2 separate regions of the Homo sapiens genome follow, and region 1 is linked to region 2. The links are contacts of gene promoters, found by promoter capture Hi-C in blood cells and fetal thymus (Javierre and others, 2016). All regions are on one chromosome and are shown on one strand. The core of a region is centred on a gene start or on the middle of the fragment in contact, and the rest is flanking DNA. Distances in the headings are between cores, read along the strand shown.

What was found. Contacts are between HindIII fragments. The CHiCAGO score rates a contact against its expected background, and 5 or more counts as called.
Region 1: the fragment with the promoter of RS1 here is called in contact with the fragment with the promoter of PHKA2 in region 2 in 7 of 17 cell types (naive B cells, total B cells, naive CD4 T cells and 4 more); the score reaches 8.5 in naive B cells.

Annotation. Positions count from the first base shown.
Region 1 is chrX:18,667,686-18,674,320 of GRCh38, forward strand. It overlaps RS1 (retinoschisin 1), which reads right to left and starts at 4,423. Exons shown (of 6, transcript NM_000330.4): 1 at 4,332-4,423. The coding sequence starts at 4,383. The HindIII fragment of the contact is 14,405 bases long and covers 1-6,635 here.
Region 2 is chrX:18,981,746-18,987,843 of GRCh38, forward strand. PHKA2 (phosphorylase kinase regulatory subunit alpha 2) reads right to left here and starts at 2,369. Exons shown (of 33, transcript NM_000292.3): 1 at 2,110-2,369. The coding sequence starts at 2,187. LOC101928415 (a long non-coding RNA gene) reads left to right here and starts at 5,842. Exons shown (of 4, transcript XR_001755808.2): 1 at 5,842-6,098. RefSeq lists enhancers at 2,171-2,671, 2,672-3,172, 3,154-3,203 and a silencer at 2,364-3,053. The HindIII fragment of the contact is 8,902 bases long and covers 240-6,098 here.

The sequences.
Region 1 (6,635 bases), core at 3,173-5,672, 310 kb before region 2:
TCTGTTGAGCTGTCACTGAGCAAACCTAGAGTCCAAGGAAGAGAGGCCTGCTTTCAGAGCCAATTCCTGGGTGCAATCCAATTTTGGACCCATTTCTTGCATTTCTTTTCTTCCCAGACTCCCCTCCCGCAGAAAGCATTTGTCTGTAGACAGCCTGGGGTTCTGAGGTACCATATCCTTATGGAAGTGAGCAGAGAGAGAAGGAACGACAGGCGTTTTACAGAAAAAGCTGTCACCAAAGGAGAAGCAACATGGCTGCTGCAGTCCCACACAATGATTTAATCACCAACAAACTGGAGAACAAAAGCATTTTTGGCGACAACATATTGTAATGGCAAAAACCGCAGTTACTCTTGCACCAACCTAATAGTATCATACCAGAAAATAGCATTGTTGGAAGGGGAACAAGAGAAATATCTCAGCCTCTAAAGGAAAAATAGTGAAATATTTCGATTATGTGGTTGCATATTTTTCTCCCTGTTTAGATGGCTTCTGTGATTCCGCCACATGTTACATGAGACATCCGCCAGTCACCAATCTTAGATTTATGCAATGTGGGCTTAGATTTATGCAATATGGGCTCATTCTGCCCCTTGGTCCAAAAGGGCCACTCTGCTGTGAGGAAACCCTTGTTGTCACAGCAGGAAATTTCAAGGCGTGTCTATTTCTTGAAATGTACCTTGCAACCCATGAGGAAAGGCGCGCTTTAGATACACACAGGAAAACCTAGTTTAGTCTCTTGGATTGGGTATCACCAACCATAGAGCGTTCCTTCCCATGGAAACAGATGAAGCCGAGAAGAAAAGCATAAAATTATGAATGATTAAAAATGGTCTGTAACCAGCTTCCAATCTGCTTGAGAAACAGGAGGAACGCACGCAGCAGGCTGCAATAATGTCCCTCTCGTGAAAGAGAAAGAAGGAAATTGCTTCTGGTGTGAAAGTGTTACTATTTTAGGCGACAGGCATATTCATGGGTAAATCTGTTATCTGCACATGCTTCAAACACAGATGAACCTCAACCACATATGCTAAGCGAAAGACAAAAGACCACATGCTGTGTGACTCCATTGAAATGAACTGTCCAGAACTGGCAAATCTTTAGAGACAGAAAGTCGATCCGTGGTTGCCCAGGGGCTGGGGGAGGGGGGAGACAGGGAGAATGGGGAGCGAGGGCTTAATGTTTGGGTGATGAAAATGTTCTAAAATTAGATTATGTGCTCCACAAATCTGTAAATATACTTAAAACGATCGAACAATAGACTTTCAATGGGTGAATTTAAGAGTATATAAATTACATCTCAATAAAACTGCTTTAAAAAAACCCCTGCAATCTCTGATGGTAACACAGTCACCTATAAGTTGAGGCTGAAGGACTTTTTTTGTTTTTATATAATAAACATGACCAAGTAATGAAGTAAGATATTTTAATACGATGGATGTTCTAAAAATCCTTATTGGCATTGAATCCAATATGTGCGGTGTAAGAGAAATAGAAGCCTGACTCAATTATAAGACATAGGAAGCCAGGTGCGGTGGCTCATGCCTGTAATCCCAGCACTTTGGGAGGCCGAGGCAGGCAGATCACCTGAGGTCGGGAGTTCGAGACCAGCCTGGCCAACATGGAGAAACCCCGTCTCTACTAAAATTACAAAAATGATCCGGGCGTGGTGGCACACGTCTGTAATCCCAGCCACTCGGGAGCCTGAGGCAGGAGAATCGCTTGAACCCGGGAGATGGAGGTTGTGGTGAGCCGAGATCACGCCACTGCACTCCAGCCTGGGCAACAAGAGTGAAATTCTCAAAAAAAAAAAAAAAAAGACATAGGAAATGCCTTACTGTGAGGCTGTGTGCTCTCCGAAATGAACCTTCATCCAACGCCTAAGTGAAGGCAATTTCTTTACCTTATTTCACTGTAATGAGGAGACACTGCCACTGAAGGACAGAAGCAGTGGAGGGTAAATTGGACAAACAGCCTTTGTCTTCAGGTTCCCAGCTGTACAATGGGATGCATCTTTCCCATGTCTATGGGCCTTATGCATCTCCATCTGGATAATATGCTGATTAAGTTCAGTGATTGTGTCCTCTGTCCCCTGGAGCATCCCTCTGGCCCAGGGTAGGGCACACAGTAGGTTGCCAAGCCACACTGGCTATTTTTGGCTGGCTGCTTTCCTTTCAAGTGCTGTTAAAGGCCTGCGTTAAGCAAGTAAGATAATTTAAGCTCCCCAAACCTTCCCACTGGCCCACGTTGCAGGGCACCTGGAGAGACGATGTTCTCTGCTCTTCGTGGACATTTCTGGAGCTCCCCAGCCATGCACAAAGATTGGTAAACTTTAGAACACGAAAGAGTGCTATCCTTCATGCCTCCTGACAGCCTGTCTTTTATTGCTGATATCCACTAACTGGGCAGGTCTAATTTTAAAATGCTTTGGTAAACATTTCTAGGACTTCTTCGCATCGCGGGGGTGGGGAGGTCACAGAACAGGGTTGTTAGACTCAGCACTGTGGAAGAAACAAGGATGCCCTGCATGTCAAGTCCTTTTTTTTTTTTTTTTTTTTGAGACTGAGTCTCGCTCAGTCACCCAGGCTGGAGTGCAATGGCATGATCTCAGCTCACTGCAACCTCCCTCTCCAGCAATCAGACGATTCTCCCGCTTCAGCCTCCCCCGAGTAGCTGGGATTAGAGGCACCTGCCATCATGCCCAGATACTTTTTGTATTTTTGTAGAGACGGGGTTTCACCAGGTTGGGCAGGCTGGTCTCAAACTCCTGACCTCAGGTGATAGACCCGCCTCAGCCTCCCAAAGTGCTGGGATTACAGTCATGAGCCACCGCGCCCCGCCGTCATACACAATGTTTGCCCCCTAGCAGATAGTCAGGGATGAGCTCTTAAAAGAAGGGACCAAGGAATGAATGAATGAATCTCCATGCCAATCACAAAGAAGAGAAATCCGAGAGTGAGCCCTGGGAGTGTCTGACAACCAGGAGTATTTAGATCTAAGCCTTGAAAGAGTCTGCTTAGATTTTCTTGCTGAGGAAAGAGGAGGGGGCAAGGAGTAAAAGGAAAAACAACAAAACCCCAAAGCATCTTAAAGTAGTCAGAGTTACTGGGACAAGTTGCAGACTATTAATTGCAAGGGGAAAAAATCCTAACAGACAACTGGTTTACATGATCCCTACTTAGAAATATACCTTGGGGTTTGCAGAATGACCTTGGAATTATATTGTCACCAGTCTTTCCAAATACTGAGAAATGTGACTAAGTAACAAAAGTCATCAGCCTGGGAAACATGGTGAAAACCCCTCTCTACAAGAAATACAATAAATTAGCCGGATGTGGTGGTGCGTGCCTGTAGTCCCAGCTACTAGGGAGGCTGAGGCAGGAGGATGGCTTGAGCCTGGGAGGTTGAGGCTACAGTGAGCCGTGAAACCAAGAATTCTGATTCTACTTGTGTGAGTTTCGCTGTGTCTGTCTACCAGGTCATTTGCAGAGCACAGAGACCTCCTTCTCCCTGCTTTTTAATTTATTTTCTATAACACACAAATACACGATGTCCACAAAGAAGACAGGCAACCAATTTCTAACATCTGGATGAACCTGAGGAGAAATTCTGAGCAGATGGGTACTTGAGAATTGAGAGAGGCATGAAAGAATATTATTTCAAAGATTGAGAGGGAATTGGAACTGGATGACATTTTACAGATTTGCCCTTATTTTTTCCTAATTGAAGCATATCACTTCTGCTAGGGTCATATTTAGAAATTTTAAAATGAGTGAGTGTACTGAGTCTCCGAGGTTTCCTGACTCTCAGTTGGATTATGTTTTTTATTAGATTCCAGTGGTACTGGGTATGTTACGTTAATCCATATTTAAACTAGGTTGACCTTACACCCCAATTTGCCCTGGATGGTCCTGGGTTACACCTGTCGTCCCAACAGAATTATTAATAGCATCGTCCTCCACCGTCAATAGCATTCCGGTTTGGAATATTAAATTCTACAATCACTCCCACTTTGACTCCTAAAAGTTTTCCAGAATATGCCATACTTTCTCATTAATTGTTGCAACTTATGGCTATTTTATAGATTTCTGAGACCCATCCTGTTTTCTGTTGGATTTTAAGCATCCTTTGAACTTTAGAAGGCTCCTCACAGAACTGGAAAGCCATCCACACAAAGACAACTGTTGTTCATTAATAACACATGTTAGTTAATTAACGTGTTGCTAATTAATAATATTTATATTATTCAGGCTATATTCCTATTTATCAACGATATTAATTAAATTATGTATTAAGTATGCAATGAATGTCAATGGTTGAATAGCACATACCTTCATAGCCAAAGAGAAGTAATAACAAAAAGCCTTCTATCTTGCGTGACATCTTCCCCTCGTCCTCGGCCAAAGCTCTACCTTACTGAACTGGAGAGCTGGCCCAGGAGCAGGGGATTAAGTTGAGCCCTGGCCTCATTAAGCATCTTAATCCATTTAGTTCTTAGGTCTTTGGCTGAGCCCCATCAAGTTAACCCACAGAGTTACCTGCCTCAACAAGGAAGTCTCATGGAAGATACTAGCATCAACTGAGATTCAGTTCGCGAGGAAGATACTTTTCGTTCTTTTTTTTTTTTTTTTTTTTTTTTTTGAGATGGAGTTTCGCTCTTGTCACCCAGGCTGGAGTGCAATGGCGCCATCTCGGCTCACTGCAACCTCTGCCTCCCGGGTTCAATCTAGTCTCCTGCCTCAGCCTTCCGAGTAGCTGGGATTATAGGCTCACGCCACCACGCCCAGCTAATTTTTGTATTTTTAGTAGAGATGGGGTTTCGTCATGTCAGTCAGGCTGGTCTCGGACTCCTGACCTCAGGTGATCCACCCACCTCGGCCTCCCAAAGTGCTGGGATTACAGGCGTCAGCCACTGCGCCCGGCCCATACTGTTCATTCTATCTTAATGTAAGGGAAGCAATGGAGGGAGAGAACTACAACCAGAAGTCTCAGGTTTTCGTCCTTTCTTCGCCATCATTTTTTAGGGGGTGACCTTGAACAATTTCCTGCCACATAAGCACTAACATTCTCGAATTGTATGAAAATGTCATGGATTCCCCTCTTTGAAAGCAACTAGGCATCATGTGCACACCTATTCACTCAGGAAAATGCTAAATTTGGTGGTGGTGGGAGGACAGTTAACACAAAGCTGTGCATTGCTGTGTTACTTTTAACAACAACAAATTGGAAACAATCTAAATGGCCAAGGTTAGGGGGCTGGTTAAGTAAATCAAGAGATGAGTGCAGCCTGGTAGGTTTAAGAGCACAGACTGCCAACCCAGACTGGGTGCCAAATCGCAGCACTAGCACTTGTTACATTGTGACCTCAGGGCAAGTTATTAATATCTCTGCGCCTAAACTTTCTCATCTGTAAGATGATGATAATAATGCCTACTTTCGAGAGTTATTTTGAGGCTTACAAGAGATCATATGTATAAAATACTTAGCACAGTGCTAGACATAATTAGCTATTATTTTTACATCACCATTCAGAATAAAGTTGATGGGAGGAAAAGGGGAGTTGTTTAATAGGTATAGAGTTGAGTTTTGCAAGATGAAAAAGTTCCCGAGATCTGTTTCACAACAATGTGAATATACTTAACACTACTGAACTGTACACTTAAAAATGATTATGGTGGGCTGGAGGTGGTGGCTCACACCTGTAATCCCAGCACTTTGGGAGGCCAAGGCAGGCAGATCACTTGAGGTCAGGAGTTCGAGACCAGCCTGGGCAACATGGCGAAACCTCGTCTCTACCAAAAATACAAAAATTAGTCGGGCGTGGTGGCGTGCACCTATAATCTCAGCTACTCGGGAGGCTGAGGCAGGAGAATCGCTTGAACCCAGGAGGCCGAGGTTTCAGTGAGCCGAGATTGTACCACTGCACTCCAGCCTGGGTGACAGAGCCAGACTCTGTCTCAAAAAAAAAAAAAAATGGTTAAGGTGGTTTTAAAAAAGGCCGGGCACGGTGGCTCAAGCCTGTAATCCTAGCACTTTGGGAGGCCGAGGCGGGCGGATCACGAGGTCAGGAGATCGAGACCATCCTGGCTAACACGGTGAAACCCCGTCTCAACTAAAAATACAAAAAATTAGCCGGGCGAGGTGGCAGGCGCCTGTAGTCCCAGCTACTCGGGAGGCTGAGGCAGGAGAATGGTGTGAACCCGGGAGGCAGAGGTTGCAGTGAGCTGAGATCACGACACTGCACTCCAGCCTGGGCGACAGAGTGAGACTCCGCCTCCAAAAAAAAAAAAAAGAATAAAGTTGATGAAGTGATTGTAATAACAGGGAAAGAGTTACACTCAAGTTAGAAAAAGACGCAAATTTCTACACTGTTAAGGATGCATAACTAGGTTGAAAATGCAGAGAAAAATACTGAGTGCCCCTTCCCATTTTATATTTTTTGCTACCACCATCTCACCATGGCCCACACCCTCATTCCTCTTGTCAAAGATAAAAAAGCCAATATTTAAACAAATAATAAACTCCCCAAAGGAAACTGTAATGAAATAGTAAAGAGGAACAGAAAGAAACTAGAGAAACGTTTGCTCATTCAACCAGTATTTATTGAATGTCTACAAGCCTGACATTTATTTTAT
Region 2 (6,098 bases), core at 1,119-3,618:
AACGTGTGGCCTCTATCAAAATCATAACACCACCAAGAGCACCCATTATTTACTGTTGCCCAGTAGGTGCCAGACAAGATAGTAGGCACTAATTTTTTCCTTAGAAACACTCAGTGGAAGCAAGTGTTATTATCCTCACTTTACAGATGAGGGCATGGACTCAGAAGGGATCAAGAAAGGTCACACATGTCATTCAAGGCAGAGCAGGGGATTCAAACCCAGGTCTGACAAAAGAACCAAGCTTCATCAGCTCTCCTTAAAGCCCTCTCCATCACAGTCATGAAGGGAAAGGTTTTTCAACTTGGATTTTAAAACACTTTATAGATGTAATTAGAATATATTCCAAGGAAGAAGGGGAAAAATAACCTTGATTTGCCTGCCTACTTCTTCTGCTCTCAACTTGAACATCATCTCTTCCAGGACTCCTCTACTGCTCCCACAAACTGGGCGAGGGGTCCTTCCTCAAAGCTCTCAAAATAAAGACCATCATCCTTCATGTGCAATCTCAAAAGCCAGTAAGCTCTGAAAATTTAAAGTGTTTTCGTAAGTTTGCAGCAAGCTCTTTTGGTGGCAAAAGATGAGCCGAACTAATATGAAACTCTTTTCAGCCTTTACTGAAATTATGTGAATATTCATATTCTGATGTGGAAGTAATAACCTGTTTGATGAAGGGGTGCTGCCCAGATCTGGCTGCAGTTATTATGGTATATATAGTACGTTGTACGCATATTACCTTTCTAAAAGCCAAACATTTCTGATGGGCAAACCACAACTGGTCCAAAGGGTTTCAGATAATGGACTCTGAGGCCAGGTGCAGTGGCTCATGCCTGTAATCCCAGCACTTTTGGGAGGCCGTGGTGAGAGGATGACTTGAAGTCAGGAGGTCGAGACCAGCCTGGCCAACGCAGTGAAACCCCGTCACTACTAAAAATGCAAAAATTAGCTGGGTGTGGTGGCGCACGCCTGTAGTCCCAGCTACTCGGGAGGCTGAGGCAGGATAATCGCTTGAACCCGAGAGGCAGAGGTTTCAGTGAGCCGAGATCGCGCCACTGCACTCCAGCCTAGGAGACAGAGTGAGACCCTGTCTCAAAAACAAACAAACAACAACAAAGAAAACAGATTAAGGGACTTTGGACCTATACCTTATGCATAAATGTTACTGCACTACGATCATTTATTCTTGTAACCCCAGCACTTTGTAGAGTGCTTTGCATATAACAGATACACCACAAATATTTCCTAAGTGAGGAAACAAGGCTAAGAAATTAGTTAAGAAGGGAAAATGGTCAGTGCCTTGGAAATGACCATGGCTCCCAACTTGCAGGTCAGGCCTCTAACCCCTGAATGCCACTTCCTTCGTTGACTTTGAAGGCCCTATAAATAGTTGCTGTTGATTGAGGGCAAGAAACATAGCTGCTGTCTTCACTAGGAATAAAAATAGTTCAGTGGTCTTACACTGATGGACCCACACATAATTTTAGCCCAGGAATACAAAGCATAGCAGGCAAATTCATACCTCGGACCACATGGGCAGTGTCATAGGACCCTGTGAGCTTGGGAGCCTTTGGGTCTGACCTGCTACATGCAGTGACCTTTCTAGCCTCACAATTTTCTTATCTGTAAAATAGCAACCAAAGTAGCCCCTAAGGGCTTCCCAGGTGGGTCTCTACCAAGACAGCTCATGGGAGGGACGGTAGCTGTCGCCCCACACTGCAGAGTCCTGCGTAAACTTCAGGAGCTTCTTCACTCCTGTCTACTGTTCTCATTCAGTGTAGTCTGTCCAAACCCCCCACACCTCTTCTCGTCCAAAAAAAGCAGAGTCAATGCAAAAAGAGGCAGTTTGGACCCGGGCACGGAGGCGGCTCATTCTCATCCTGAACAATGGCCAAAGAATTCTGTGAAAAGTAGCCGTAGCAACAGTTAGGTCCCCTGAATCTTAAGGAGCACGGGGTGGCAATGGGGTGGTAATCACTGGCTAGCAAGGACTAGATTCAAATAGCAAACTCTTAATTGCAAGGTCTCAGGTCACAAGAGGGCCAGACCTGGGAAGGAGAATGAGTTACATGAGAGGGTAGTTCCACGCGTTCCCTGGGGGCGGTCCCTCCTTACCTGGTAACACAGGATGGTTTGCTGCACCAGCCGCGCGTACCCGTCCAAGCGGACCCCGGAATTGCTCCTGCTCCGCATCTCCCCGAGGCTCCCAGGCCGCAGCGCCCGATCTGCCGCGTGGGCGCGGGACGTCGGGGCTGTGGCCTCCAAGCGGGTCTGGTTCCCGGACACTCACAGCCTTAGTCGGTTCTTGGGATGGGACCGGGCCGGAGGAGGTCGAGACTTTTCTAAACGCTAGCCCCAAAGTCCGGTTGGAAAGCAAGCCAACCAGAGCTCCGCGCGGCGGGGAGGCGCGGGGGCGGGGACGGGGGCTGGAGCGACGAAGGTCCCGCCTCGGCCAGGCCTGCTGGGCTCCCGACGCTCGCGGGAGCAGCGGGAAACCAGGTTCCGGGAGTGGGGCGAGGACGCCCCTGCCAAGCCCCTTTTACGTCCCGGCGGTCGCGAGGAGGTCCCCCGGGCGCGAAGAAGACGCCAGCCCACCCCAGCCGCCGGGGAGATCGCCCAGGCCGCGCTCAGCCCCGCCCCTGGCTCTGCCCCCGCCGCGGAGCGGAACCCTCCAAGTCGCGGCCTGAGGAGGAAGGAAAAGGGGGCGGCCCGGGAGAGCCGCTGCGAAATCAGCAACGGGCGGGAACCAGGTTGCCTCCCTGAGTCCCTTCTCTCCCCGGCCGGCTGCCAACCACAGCCAAGGCCAGAGAAACAGGCCCTTCTGCCGCGGCCACCTGGGCGCCTTGGACCCGCCCTCCGGACTCGCCCCCGCCCCTGCCGCGGAGTGGAACGTTTGGAACCCTGAGGGGCACAGGTAAGGGGGCGGCCCCGCCCCGCGCCCTGGAACGACCTCACGGCCCCGCCCACATCCCCGCCCCTGGCCCCACCTCCGCCGCAGAGCGGAACCCTCAGAGTCGCGGCCTCGGGGGGGACGAAAAAGGAGGCGGCCCGTGGGAGTCTAGGGGAACCCGGCTTCGGGCGGCGGACGAGTTGGCTTTCCTGCGTGGTAGTGTGGAGCCCCCCGAGACGGGTGCCAGTCCCACTCGAGGCCGGAGAAAGAGGGCCGCCTACCGCGGCCGCCTGGGCACCCCTCTGAGGGCCAAGATTGTAGTCCCACCTCTGGCCCCGTCTCCGCCGCCTAGCGGAACTGGAGTAGCGGGACCCAGCCCGGAAGAAAAAGGGGGAAGGCCCGGAGAGGTGCCCCAGCGACACCTCTGGCGCCTGTGACCCCGCCCCTAGCCACTTGGGCGCCGCTTCCTCGGGCAGGTTCGCAGTTCATCTCCCACGGGTCTACAGCTTGAAACTTGGCATTCATTATAATGTTTCGTGGCTGCTGATAACCTACAGTTCACAATCTTCGGCCTGGTATTCATTGTCCACCAAAATCTGGCCCACATAGGAATTTACTGGACAGCTAGACTAATGCAATCAATTTCCGCAAGCTCTTTTCCAGTCTCCATGCATTTACTCTATGCTTGACCCCTTCGGCCCTTCTTCCTCCTCCTTGACTAACTGAAGCCTATCTTTCCCTTAACGGCCAGCTCAGCTCCTCTATTAGCCTTCCCCATTTTCTGAATTTCTGTAGCCATTGGTTTAGTAAGAGCTTAGGACTTAGAGTCAGTTCATTTTGAGTTCAAATGTCAGTTCTGTCATTTACAAGTCGTATGACCTTTGGCATCCCGTTTTACATGTTTGAACTTAAGTGTTCTCATCTGTAAAATGGAGATAATCATAGCACCTACCTCACAGGATGACTTAAGATCAAGAGGATGAATATAAAGCATTTAGCACAAGCCTGGCTAGTAGAAAAATACTTAATAAATCATAGCTAATTTCGTTGTCACTTGGCCACAATGTATTGCCTCCTGTTGTTATTTATGTTTTCATGTGTGGATGAGGCATATTTTCCTAATTGGAATGTACGTTATTCATTGAAACAGTCTTTTGGTATCTCCTACTATGCCTGGTACAGTGTTGAGCATATAGTTGGAGCTCAATTAATGTTGCTCGCATGAGTAAATGAAATCAGTCCTGCTTAGCTGCGTTCCCTTATGTTTGGTCCTTAACCAAGTTTATATTAGATATTCCAGAACATAAATCTATGGCTTTACTCTGTCACTCAACTAAAGCACCAAACCCCACATCAGCTCACATATTACTTCATATAATACTTTGTTTTCTTAATATTGGCTTTTGAATTATGCAGTGATCCATGTGATGTGCCTCCATGAAGAATTTGCTGTGGTCTAGGGGTGAATAAAACTAGACATTGTTATCACCACTAAATGTTTTGGAATCTGAATATGTACTCTTGCTAGAATTTTCATGTATTCATCTCCATCTAAAAGCTGGGATCATTGCTTCTTTTCATTGTGGCTTTTGTTTCCATTGGGTCCTTCCTTAGGAGTTGATTTTGCAGCCATATGGGAAATAACTGATGATCTTTGCTCCTTATCTGGCATTTCCACCTAGTATAGAAACATTTTCAGTTTCCTGACTTCATTCTTCGCTAATTCTGCTGTGCACATTTGCACCCCTTTTGGTGTATAGGCAATCTACATTCTTCGGCTTTGGTCTATGCGATTGCATAGCAATATATAAGCTATGTTCTTCAATAAGCTCAAAATTCTGGGATAAAACCAAGAAGGAAGGCTACTCCGTTTTAGCTTTTAAATTTTTAAAGCAAATTTTAGTGATTCATTTTGGACCAGAAAGCTGTACTATATAATAAATCAGTCTCACATTTTAGTATCCTCATATCCCTGAGGTGCAAAACCTCCATATCTTGGTCCCCATATCCATGAAGCCATTCTCTGGTTATCACCAATAGAAACTTGTCTCCAAGTCATTTCTCAAATATTTGTCAAGAATCAGATATAGTATAATGATAGGGAATGTTATTGTTTCTGAAGCTGATTCATGATCTCCATAAAAATGAAGACCCAGAACTGGACCCTGGGGTAGCACCATGTATGATTTTTCTGACCCCAGCCAGAGGATCTGCCATCATCCTGCCACAGAGACTTCAGCCCAGGTAGTTTCCAGAGAGCCCCATGTTAACATCCAAGGTGGAAACCAATAAATGTTTCTCTTGTAGGGTTCAGGTCTTTGGCTCTAAAGAAAATCACTCCATCTTTGACCCAGAAGGTCAATTCTGAATGAATTTGCTGAAAATGACCAATTCACCAAATTTAGTTATTTCTATGATAATTTAGTTGACTGGAAATCATTTTTTCGTTACATTTTAAAGAATGTTGAATTTGTCTCTGCTCCAGCTTCCTGTAGCTCGTTTGAGGCTAAGAGATAAAGAGAGGAAACACCAGGGAACATAAGATTTCTTCACAGTGAGGAATATATTTATTAAATATATTTAAAAGAATATATTCTAAAAGAACATATATTCCATTTTTGCCTGCTCTGACTTCTTGATGCTGTACCTGGAGACTAACATGAAAAGAAAGCAGTATATACTGGCCAGGCGCAGTGGCTCACACCTGTAATCCCAGCACTTTGGAAGGCTGAGGCTGGTGGATCACTTGAGGTCAGGAGTTCAAGACCAGCCTGGCCAATATGGTGAAACCCTATCTCTACAAAAAATACAAAAATTAGCTGGGCATGGTGGCAGGTGCCTGTAATCTCAGCTACTCGAGAGGCTGAGGCAGGAGAATTGCTTGAACCCAGGAAGTGGAGAGTGCAGTGAGCCAAGATTGCACCATTGCACTCCAGCCTGGGTGATAGAGCGAGACTCTGTCTCAAAAAAAAAAAAAAAAAAAGAAAAAAAAAGTATACACTGATAAGAATTCTTCAAATTGAAGATTATGTTCTTATGTCTACCCAGTCTTTCCTTTTTCCTTTCCTTCGGACTCCAACTAGAACAGCAAGGAGCAGAGACAAAGACAAACTAGTCCTTAAAATGCTGTTATGGAGACAAAATGACACCAAACAAGTCCACTCTGTGAATTGGTTATGCTGTAAATTAATCTTTGTCTAAATGGCCTTTGACA